2 separate regions of the Homo sapiens genome follow, and region 2 is linked to region 1. The links are contacts of gene promoters, found by promoter capture Hi-C in human tissues and cell types (Jung and others, 2019). All regions are on one chromosome and are shown on one strand. Each heading gives the region's core, a stretch centred on a gene start or on the middle of the fragment in contact. The rest is flanking DNA. Distances are from core to core; before and after follow the strand shown. Region 1 holds the start of OPRK1 (opioid receptor kappa 1). Region 2 has its middle 17 kb from the start of RGS20.

Region 1 (5,298 bases), core at 1,564-4,063:
CGCTTTTCATTCATCATCAAACGTAACCTTTAAGTATTGGGAGGTGGGAGAATGGAGAATGATGTATGTGAACTATCCAACTTCTTTTATATTTTTAGCTGAACTTATCCCCTTATAACACACTTTAGTGTTGGATATATTTGGGAAATCTATCCATTAAAAATCCTAGCTAATCTACAGGATTTTTTTTTCCTTCTTACATGTCAAATGTTCCCCATGGAGTTATATTTGCACATAACATCTAAATGTTATTTTAGGATTCTTCATTCTTTTTAATCCTAGTCTGCAAAAGGTTGTAGAGCAACTACAAAGCTCTTTTCAAACTGCAGACTTCAGGGGCTCATTCAAATAACAATATGTATCTGTTTTACTTGAGCACCTAAATATGATATGGGTAGAAACAGAGCTATTTTTTTTCCTAGAGCTTTCTTTTGCTTAACAATGTTTCTATTACCCCACCACCAAATAAATAGCTTCTGTACCAAAGATCTCCTAAAATTTTTAATTAAAATTTAGAATACAGTTGTCTTTTCTTTTGTCTAATTGTCTCTTTAGTGGAGGCCAGCCCTGAGATTACTAATGACTTGGACAAACAATTTAATTTTAAAATATTCCTTCCTTCTATAACCTTTACTCATCATGGATAGAATTCCTGCGAAATGCAATAGGCAATTATGAAAACCAAGGGCACCAAGCTATAAACACTAGTTGTTGATGAAATGAGCTTTATAATATGTGTTTGGCGACTTAAATGATGGTTTTTAATGTCAGAGCATACATAGGAATAAAAGACCTGACATTCTCAAGCAAAAAAGTAAAAATAAAAATAAAGCAGTATTTTATTATGATAATTTTCCAAGAGAAACATTTATGCTACCATTCATGATATGGTTGTTAAAGTTCATAATAAATAAATGGCCTGTTTCAAAACTAAAATCAAGCTTAAAAAAAATCAGCTATTCATCGTTTCAGAGTCCCTAGCCAGGGTGACTTGCATCCCGCCCTTATTTCATAGAGACTTCTCAAAGGAACACAAGCTTCCTACTCCCTCTCACAGGTGTGTTGACAAAGCTCTAGTGCTCCCAGAAAAGGAAACACATCTATCTTAAGAAAAGTGCAGAACAAAGTTAGGTTTTCCTTTTCTTGTTTTTCTTTCTTAAAGTCAGAATCACTTTGCTTACCAAAAAATTAGCATATATGTGGATATTGGGATACTTATTATTGGAAGTTGACTTGAAGAAATTTCCACACACACACACACACACACACACACACACAAATAAAACCTTCAATTTCTCATGGTGAAAAAAACAGCGAAGTAGTTTTTGAAAATCTCCACAGGCCATGTTTTAGAGGATAAATATTATTTACTGATATTCCTAACAAATGGGATGCCATTTGATACTAAAAAGGCTCATATATGCATATCAACAACGCTAGAGCATATATCAGGTTTTGTTTCATAAGCCAAAACACCAGTCTGAGGAGTCCCAGGAAATTCGGAATTATCTTCAGTGCATTGGGTGGGCTTGAAATTTATCTTAAGAAATATTTGCAAAGGGCATAACAAAGTGCTCCAAACTGGCGCAGGCAAATGGATTAGTTCCTTTACCAGGAACCCCTGACCCTGTTGTCAGCACCCTGGCACCTTGCCCTGCGCATAGAGTTTTCAGCAGAAACACTGGGCCCTAGGGTGGGGTCGGGGGGTTACTCTGAAATCTTCCAGACGCCCCTGGCCGCTCGGATTCGCCTGTGTGAACCTCTCAGCACTCCACCAAAAACTCCCAGAAAATCCTTCACCTCTTCTAGGAAGCCACCCTGTAGCATTTCCAGGATCCTTCACGGAACAGAGTCCCCACCACCTGGCTGGCTGCCCCCACTGCTGCTCCAGTGGCGGGGCCTGACCCTCACTCCCTGCCCCGCCCAGCCCCCAGCGCTGCGCTGTCCCCGCGCTCACCGGATGATCACGAACATGACCAGCGAGTTGCCCACCAAGCCCACGACGAACACTACGGAGTAGACCGCCGTGATGATGACCGGGATGGCCGGGGAGATGTGCGCGGGCTCCAGCTGCGCGTCCTCCGAGCCGGCGCTGCCGTTGCTGTCGGGCTCGGCCCAGCCGGGAAACCAGGCGCTGCTGTTGGGGGGCAGGCAGGCGCTCGGGGCGCAGGTAGGGCCCGGCTCCCCGCGGAAGATCTGGATCGGGGAGTCCATGGTGGGGCGATTGCAGCAGGAAGGCGAGGACAGGCGGCACCTGCGGCGCTGCGGGAGCGAAAGAACCGGCTGGACGCGGAGAGGCAAACTTTGCCCGCGCCCTGGCCAGCGGCGCTGGGGACCCGGAGCCTGCGGACTCCCACCCGGGCCGCAAGTCGCCGGGGGCAGGACAGGGAGAACGGACTTCTCGCTGCCTTTCCGGCCAGCAGGCGCGCCGCTGGGTGCCAGAGAGGGGCGAAGAGCGCTCGCTCCTTCTCCCCCAGCCCCTGAGGTGCCTCCCTCACCAATTCTAGGCACCGGCCCCTGGTGGAACTGTCCCCAGACTGCCTGAGTCCCCAGGGTCAAGCCCCCTTCCCACCTCCCAGCACGGAGCTCTACCTAGAACTGCACCTCGAAAGCCCAAAGCTTACCTATGGTTCCCAGAGACAGGCGAAGGCGAGGTTTTTTACGGGACGCCCTGGTAGGTGCTGAACCGCGCGCTCACGAGTCCCGCTCAGCTCTTGGCATCACCTGCTCTCGGACCCCGGCCCCGCTCTCCGCCCGAGGGCTGCTGTTCCGCCGAGCGCAGCCCCCGCCTCTCAGCGCACGTCTCCCACTACTGGCGGCGGCTCTGCGGGGCGGGGCGGGGCGGGACCGGCGGGACGCAGCCGGGACGCGGCTGGGCGCTGGGGGCCTGCGGGCGGAGAGCTCGTCTGGTGCGCCCGCCCCAGGCCGGCAGGTCCCTGCCCCGCCCCGCCCGCCCGGAGTCAGCCCCCAGCTCCCCAGCCTCCCAGCCCCGCGTCCCCTCCAGCCCCGCAGGCTCGCCCGGCCCACTAACTGCCCGAGCGGCACACCGCCTGGTCCCCGGCCATGCAGCCTTCCCCAAGACCTGAGACTGAGCCATTTAGATTTAGTAAAAAGGAGGAGCATGCCTATTTAGTGCAAGTATGCACCTGGATTTTCATATTGTGTCTAGAACTTCTTATCTGCATAGTTCGCAGTCAGGAACTACGCTTATTAGAATGGCCCATCCAAAGAAAGTAACAAAATGATCCAGTTAGAATAAGACCAGTTCATAAAATAATGACTTAAAAGACACATAAATAGAATATTTCCTTGCGTTCTCTTCCATTCCGTCTGCTCTAACTGGGATGACAGGCTGCAGACAAACTGCACCTTACGGGTATTACCTGAATTGCTGATAGTATCTGAGAAGGGCAAAACACTCTCCTTACCCGGGCCTCAGTGGTGCTCCAGGGAGGTGACAGTGTCTCTGTTTTACATTAATCCCTGCAGCCATCACGTTCTCCTCACTTCTCCCTCACAGTAGGGCTGCCTCCATTATACGGCCGCGAATCTGAGCGTCCGTAAATAAACTGTCACCATCATTTCTTTGCAAAACTCTGCTAGTCCAAGGGTAGCTGTCAGATCCTGCTGAGTGAGAGACATTCTCTTCTCAGGCAAAGGGACCGGCAAGACACAAAGGGAGCAAGGGCTCAGCCCCTGAGGTGAAGGTTCTGAAAGGGAGTGGGGAAGTTCCCCTTCTCCACAGGGTACTGGAGACAGGCCTGGGGGAGACTGGGGGTTTAGGCACCTCAATTTCCCCAGTGGATTCACTGCCTCAGGCTGACAAACACAGGTCCCCACTGCATCCCACAGCTAATGTCCATGCCACACCTGGACACACTAATGACTGATACAGCCCTTCCCTCCATCAGCGGAGGGCAGAAGGGGGTTCCTGTCTCTTTCAAGACGCCATGACCCCAAAGTGGGATTTGACCACCAGCGTCTTGCCGCCTGGAGATGAACAACTCTTTTGAGCAGTGTAATATGAAGAGCATAAGGAAATCTTCCCTTTGTTCAACCATATCCCTTCAACCCTTTCAAATAATTTTGAAAATTATTATCAAGTCTTAGAGTTCTTTTAAGTCTGATTGCAAACTGTCATTGAAGGATCACATCTCCTTCAGTAACACATCAGACCTGCTGAGACCTCATAAGGGCCTCAGTAGTTTTATTTCATTTGAGCACTCTTACCTTTCTTGTTTACCAAATTAATGGCCAAAATAAAGGGAAGACAAAATGAACAGAGCATTGAGAAGCCCTCAGGTGGCTCAGGTTGCCAGGGGAACCCACTCGAGTCTCTAAATCCAGGAAGTATGGCTGCTTCTGTGGAGTCATGCTCTTAGGAGTATGCAATTTTATCATAATATCAGATAAAAGCTCATAAAATAGAAAGGAAAAGTAAACTGCTAAAATGCTATATACTGTTACACACTGATATAAAGCACATGTGGTTATACTTGGCCATTCTACTCAATGCAAACACTATGCTTATAACTAAGTACATGGAAAGCACTTTTAAAGATGAAAATGTGGAGATTTTTATTGGATAATGCTACAATGCTAAGGAGCATCCTGGGTAGTGGGTGGCTTTGACATTTTTGTTAGATAGACTAGATAACCCACCAGTAAATTGCAATTAACTCCCTTTCTTGTGGCTCCAACAACAGATATTGTTGTGCAGCAATGAGTGCAGAGCTGGAGGGAGCAACTTCATTAGCTTAAGACCCCAGTGCAGCCAATGGAGTCTTGCTGAGCCGGGATGCAGCTGGCTTCAGCTCACTTCACTCAGCAGATATTGCAGAGTATCCCCAAGTGGCTGAAGAAAAGGCACCCTCTGGGGATACAACAATACCAACACAGAGACAATCTCTTCTCAAAGAGGATGTGAAGCTAGTGTGACACATGGGATCTAAATTTTTTTAATGTTAGGAATAATTAATAAATAATTAATAACAAATTCATCCAACTCTGGCAAATGTTATGTGGAAAGGTGTTTAATAAACAGTGATAGCCAGTGCAGCAAATTTGCATGAAATTTAAAAATAGCATCCCTTTCATAAGGCACTTTACTTAGATCTGTCAGCAAGTTGTTATAATAAATACCCAAATCAGTCTTGTCTTCGGTGTGAAGCATACTGTGAGATACTGCACACTTAGGTGCAGTGTAGTCTACACAAGTGTGCAGATCCCCTGAAGAAGACCTGGTGTCTGGGAACCCTGCTCAGTCAGAGAACATCAGGGAAGCCCTTCTTGAAATGG
Region 2 (5,298 bases), core at 960-3,459, 610 kb after region 1:
CAAAACTAGAGTCAGCAGACCCTCAGCCCCTAGGGGACACAAGCTGTGAAGTTCTTGTGTGACCCTCTGTCCTCTCTTGAGTCAGCGTGACCCAGTGTGGGTCATCGGATAAACACCCACACTAATAAATGAATATTTTTACCTGTAAGTTATCAACAAAATATATAGATTGTGTGAAGTTACATAAAAATAGTTGAGCAAAATATGACCAAATGAAATGAATAAAACATTACTTGAAAGAAATGATCAAAGCAGTTGATACTACCAATGTCACACTGCATTTCCGAATTCTGTAATAAATCTGCTGTCTCTGCTTCTGTGAGTTGTATTTAAGGCTTTCATCTGTGACCATTTGCCCAGAGGATCATGTTCTGAAGGATATATTTTTGAAGTTTTCATTTGAAGAGAAAGTATTATTACCATCAACATCGTATCAGGAGGACATGCAATTAATTTTACAGACAGTTTTGTTGAAGAACAAGTTTGCTGGATTAAAAAGTAAGCTTATGATCAGCAAATAAAATCCAGGTACTATTGCTTCCTTTTTTCTGTTTTTGCCTTGTCTTAAAAATACCTGCACCTGATTATTTTTACCAACTTATTAGCATCATTAAGATCTCTAAGCTTCCCCTTTCCCAGAGCTGCAGTTTTGGAGAAGCCACACATCTCCCATCATTTGTTGGCCCGTGGGGAGTCCAAGCTTTGGGGGGGCCAACCATTGCCCCACATGGATTCTTTGCTACCCTGAAGATAAGCAGAGTGAAGGTGAGGAGGGTGTGAGGAACAGGAGGCAAAGGAGGGTCCCTCAGGCCCCTGGTCGTTAGCCTGGACCAAACTAGAAGTTAAGAGAAGTTTGCCTCCCCTCTCTCTCACCCACCCCTCACCTTGGACTCTTCGCCAACATCCACAGACATACCCTAGGAACCTCATTCTCTCATTCTGGCCTAGTTTCTCCCTTTAAAAAAAGAAACAAAAGTTCAAATTCAAATGCACTTAGATGTAAATGAATTCATACATCACTCCTGCTCATGAAATCTACAGGGAACACTCATATTAGATCCACAAGAATGAACCTGAGTAGTGTAATTTGGACCATATAAAATCTGAGCAGGTGGGAGACTTGGGGTTCAGGGCTACTTCCAGCCCCTCCTCAGAAACCACACTCCAGCGTGATGCAAATCCTGCTGGCTTCTACTTCTGATCACAGAGAAGGTGCAGCGTTCCTTGGTTCTGTCTTCACTTCAAAACCTCCTGCTTTATAAAAAATTAGCTGGAGGGCTAGGCATGGTGGCTCATCCCTGTAATGCCAGCACTTTAGGAGGCCAGTAGTTTGGGGCCAGCCTGGACAACAAAGAGAGATCCAGTCTCCACAAGAAAATTTAAAAATTAGCTGGGTGAGTGGCACATGCCCCTAAGTCCTAGCTACTCAGGAGGCTGAGGCATGAGGATTGCTTGAGCCCAGGAGTTAGAGACTGCAGTGAGCTATGATCATGCCACTACACTCCAGCCTGAGTGATGGAGTGAGACCCTATCTCTAAAAAGAAAAGAAAATCTCCTCCTTTTCTAAGTTGTTTTGGCCAAAAGCCAGGTTATAGTTCTGCTTGGTTTATCCATCAGAAATGGGCTGGGTTTTTAGATACACGAAATCACAAGGGGAGGGGGAAATAATGCCTTTGGGTTTTAGGAAATCGGGAACCAGAGAGCTCATGACATTTTCTTTTCTTTTCTTTTCTTTTGTTTTTGAGATGGAGTTTCGCTCTTGTTTCTCAGGCTGGAGTACAATGGCACGATCTCGGCTCACCGCAACCTCTGCCTCCCAGTTCAAGGGATTCTCCTGCCTCAGCCTCCCGAGTAGCTGGGATTACAGGCATGTGCCACCATGCCCGGCTAATTTTGTATTTTTAGTAGAGACGGGGTCTCTCCATGTTGGTCAGGCTGGTCTCAAACTCCGGACCTCAGGTGATCCGCCCGCCTCGGCCTCCCAAAGTGTTGGGATTACAGGTGCGAGCCACAGCGCCCGGCCATGACATTTTCAAATTCCTTCTCCCTGAGTCAAGATTCAGAGCTCATTGCTCCCTTCTTGGAATACAGCCCTCCACCTCACTCCCAGATGCAATAAGCATTCTCAGGGGCCCAAGAGCAGATGGGCTCTTCTTTGCTAATGCTTTTTAAAGGCAGGGAGTAGAACAATGGCAAATGGTGACATCTGGTGGAAATCCAAGCACTGCAGCACTTCGAACCAGTGCGACTTGAGGCTCAGTTGTAACTAACTGAAGTCTGAGTACTTGAAGATGTCCTTTTTTACCAAGTGAAAAGCTCAGTGATATCACCCTTTTGGCTGACACAGGTACACCCTGCCACCAAGCAAGATGATGACATAAAGGGCAATGTCTTTGAAATGCCAAGAATTGGTTTTTGAATTCAGGTCTAAGTTGTATTTCATTCTCTGAGTCTTTGTTTTATCTTTTTTTTTTTTTTTTTTTGGCAGAGTCTCACTTTGCCACCCAGGCTGGAGTGCAATGGCGCCAACTCGGCTCACTGCAACCTCTGCTTCCCCGGTTCAAGCAATTCTCCTGTCTCAGCCTCCCAAGTACCTGGGACTACAGGCTCATGCCACCACACCCAGCTAATTTGTATGTATTTTTAGTAGAGACAGGGTTTCACCATGTTAGCCAGGATGGTCTCAATCTCCTGACCTCGTGATCTGCCTTCCTCGGCCTCCCAAAGTGGTGGGATTACAGGCATGACATTTTATCTTCTATAAAATCAAGACAATAATACTTTTCACATTCAATTTGAATGGTTGCTTTGAAAAAATCAAATGAGACAAGGCATGTAAAAATGCTGGTAAACTATAAAGACATGGGCTTTTTTAAAAAACTCAGATCATGGTGGCTCACACCTGTAATCCCAGCACTTTGGGAGGCCAAGGCAGGTGGATCACTTGAGGTCGATCAGGAGTTCAAGACCAGCCTGGCCAACATGGTGAAACCCCGTCTCTACAAAAATACAAAAAAAAAATCAGCTGGGCATGATGGCGGGTGCCTGTAATCCCAGCTACTCGGGAGGCTGAGGCAGGAGAATAGCTTGAACCCAGGAGTTGGAGGTTGCAGTGAGCTGAGATTGTGCCATTGCACTCCAGCCTGGCGATAGAGCAAGACTCCATGAAAAAAAAAAAAAAAAAAAAACTCAGATACTTTGAGTTTTTCTTTTAAAAGCCTGCATCGGTGAGTCCAGCTTTCCATTAGCCCTGTGCTGCCTCCCGGGAACCCCTTGGAATCCTATGGGCTGGGTTTGTAGCCAGTTTCTCCCATAATAGTTGTTAATCTAGTTATCTCCATCTGCAGATGGACCTCGTACATAGTGGGCACAGAGTAAGAGCCCAGTTAATATTGATTGGCCAGTTGATTAGTAGATATAGAAATGCATTATTTCCCTAATTTTTTTCCACCATGTGGATGAAACAAGATTTCATCTGATTAAGGTCAGAGATCATATGGTATTTCTTGATGTCTTCAAACTGAAATTGTTAAAATCTTTCTTCAGACAAATGTTTCATATGCCCTGAAAGAAATTAATGACAGTTAAGAATTCTGAATGGCCCCTAAAATGTTTCATATCAAGGCAGTGCCAACCTCCAACTTCCCCAAGAAAACATCCCCTTTAAAATGCCAAGCAAAGCAGTCTAATTCAGTCGCGTCCAACTCAAAGAAATCAATGCCCGCTAACAAGTTCTCCCAGCAGCCAGGCCAGAGGAGGGAGAAAGCCTTAGAACGACAGGGCCCCGCATGGCCTGAACGAGGCTCACACAAAGCCTGGTTTATTAGGAACCACTGGAAAAGCTATAAAGCCCAGGCAGCCTTCCTGGGCCTGTCACAAATTGTCCACTTTGGAGAGAACAATGTCTTCCCTGTTCTTGCCGTCTTGTTTGTTGATTTTCAGGCTCCATCAGTGTGAAATTGAGAGATCCGGCCCAGGTCCGTGGGGACAAATGGAGTGGCCCTCTTGTGTCAGGCCTTCTCTGAACATCCATTTTAACAAACCTCATACCTTCAGGGTCTACTCATGCAATTGCTGCAGCCTCTATCCCACAGTTTCTCGCCTCTGTAATTGAGAAAGAGATGAGATGCATTGTTTAGAAATGTAAAACCACATCTATCAAAAAACATTTTTATTACAAAAGTGTTAGACATAATAGCATAATAAAACCGTATGTGCCCATTACCCAGCTTCAACAATTATCAACTCCAGATCATGACATTTCAAAGTTCATTCATTTAACAGATATTCATTAAGTACATGTTATATCCCAGTACTGCTTAGGTTTTTTTGTGGGGGTTTTTTGTTTGTTTGTTTGTTTTTGAGACAGAGTTTGCCCTCTCGCCCAGGCTGGCATGCAGCGGTGTGATCTCAGCTCACTGCAACCTCTGCCTCCTGGGCTCAAGCTGTTCTCATGCCTCAGCCTCCTGAGTAGCTGAGATGACAGGTGTGCACCACCATGCCCAGCTAATTTTATCCATTTTTAGTGGAGATGGGGCTTCTCTGTTTTGGCCAGGCTGGTCTTGAACTCCTGGCCTCAAGTGATCTACCTGCCTCAATGTTCCAAAGTACTGGATTACAGGCATGAACCATTGTGCCTGGCCAACTGCTTAGGGTTTTGAGACACAGGTCTGAATATTGCAAAGTCCTGAGGCTCACAGAGCTCAGAGCCTGATGGGAAAACAGACTATCACAATACAGAGCATGCAGGCAACCCCAACGTGAGAGAGCTTCCTGAGGGAAATGGCATCTAAGCTGAGACTTGAAGGATAAATAGGAGAGGAGATTGCCCTGGGAGAGAAGAAGAGGTAACTGGAGAGGGGAGTGATTCAGGCAGAAGCAGCAGCTGACACAAAGTCCCAGGAATGAGAATGAACAAGGAAATTTTAGGAACGGAAGGAACATGAATGTATGGTGCTTTGAGTACCAAGGAATAGGTGACAGAAAGATGGGTAGACAGAGTACACATCAGCAAATCGCAGAAGGTCTTCTATGCCATGTGAAGTCACTTGAACTTCATCCTGCAGAGAAATGATGAGCCCCTGTGAGGCTAAAAGGAAGGGAAGAGAAGGACACATTTACCTCTTTTTTTTTTTTTGAGTCTTGCTCTGTCACCCAGGCTAGAGTGCAGTGGCACAATCTCGGCTCACTGCAACCTCCGCCTCCCAGGTTCAAGCAATTCTCCTGCCTCAGCCTCCCAAGTAGCTGGGATTACAGGAGGCACCCACCATCACACGCCTGGCTAATTTTTGTATTTTT

The links. Contacts are between HindIII fragments. The study calls those that stand out against the background at their distance.
Region 2: a contact is called between a fragment that was not itself captured here and the fragment with the promoter of OPRK1 in region 1, in 1 of the 25 tissues and cell types used here (H1 embryonic stem cells).

Annotation. Positions count from the first base shown.
Region 1 is chr8:53,248,824-53,254,121 of GRCh38, forward strand. It overlaps OPRK1 (opioid receptor kappa 1), which reads right to left and starts at 2,814. Exons shown (of 4, transcript NM_000912.5): 1 at 2,625-2,814; 2 at 1,958-2,262. The coding sequence starts at 2,214. The HindIII fragment of the contact is 8,793 bases long and covers 1,829-5,298 here.
Region 2 is chr8:53,861,264-53,866,561 of GRCh38, forward strand. It overlaps a transcript of RGS20 not described here. Among named protein-coding and RNA genes, the nearest start is that of RGS20, 17 kb to the right of the region's middle. The HindIII fragment of the contact is 5,706 bases long and covers 1-5,062 here.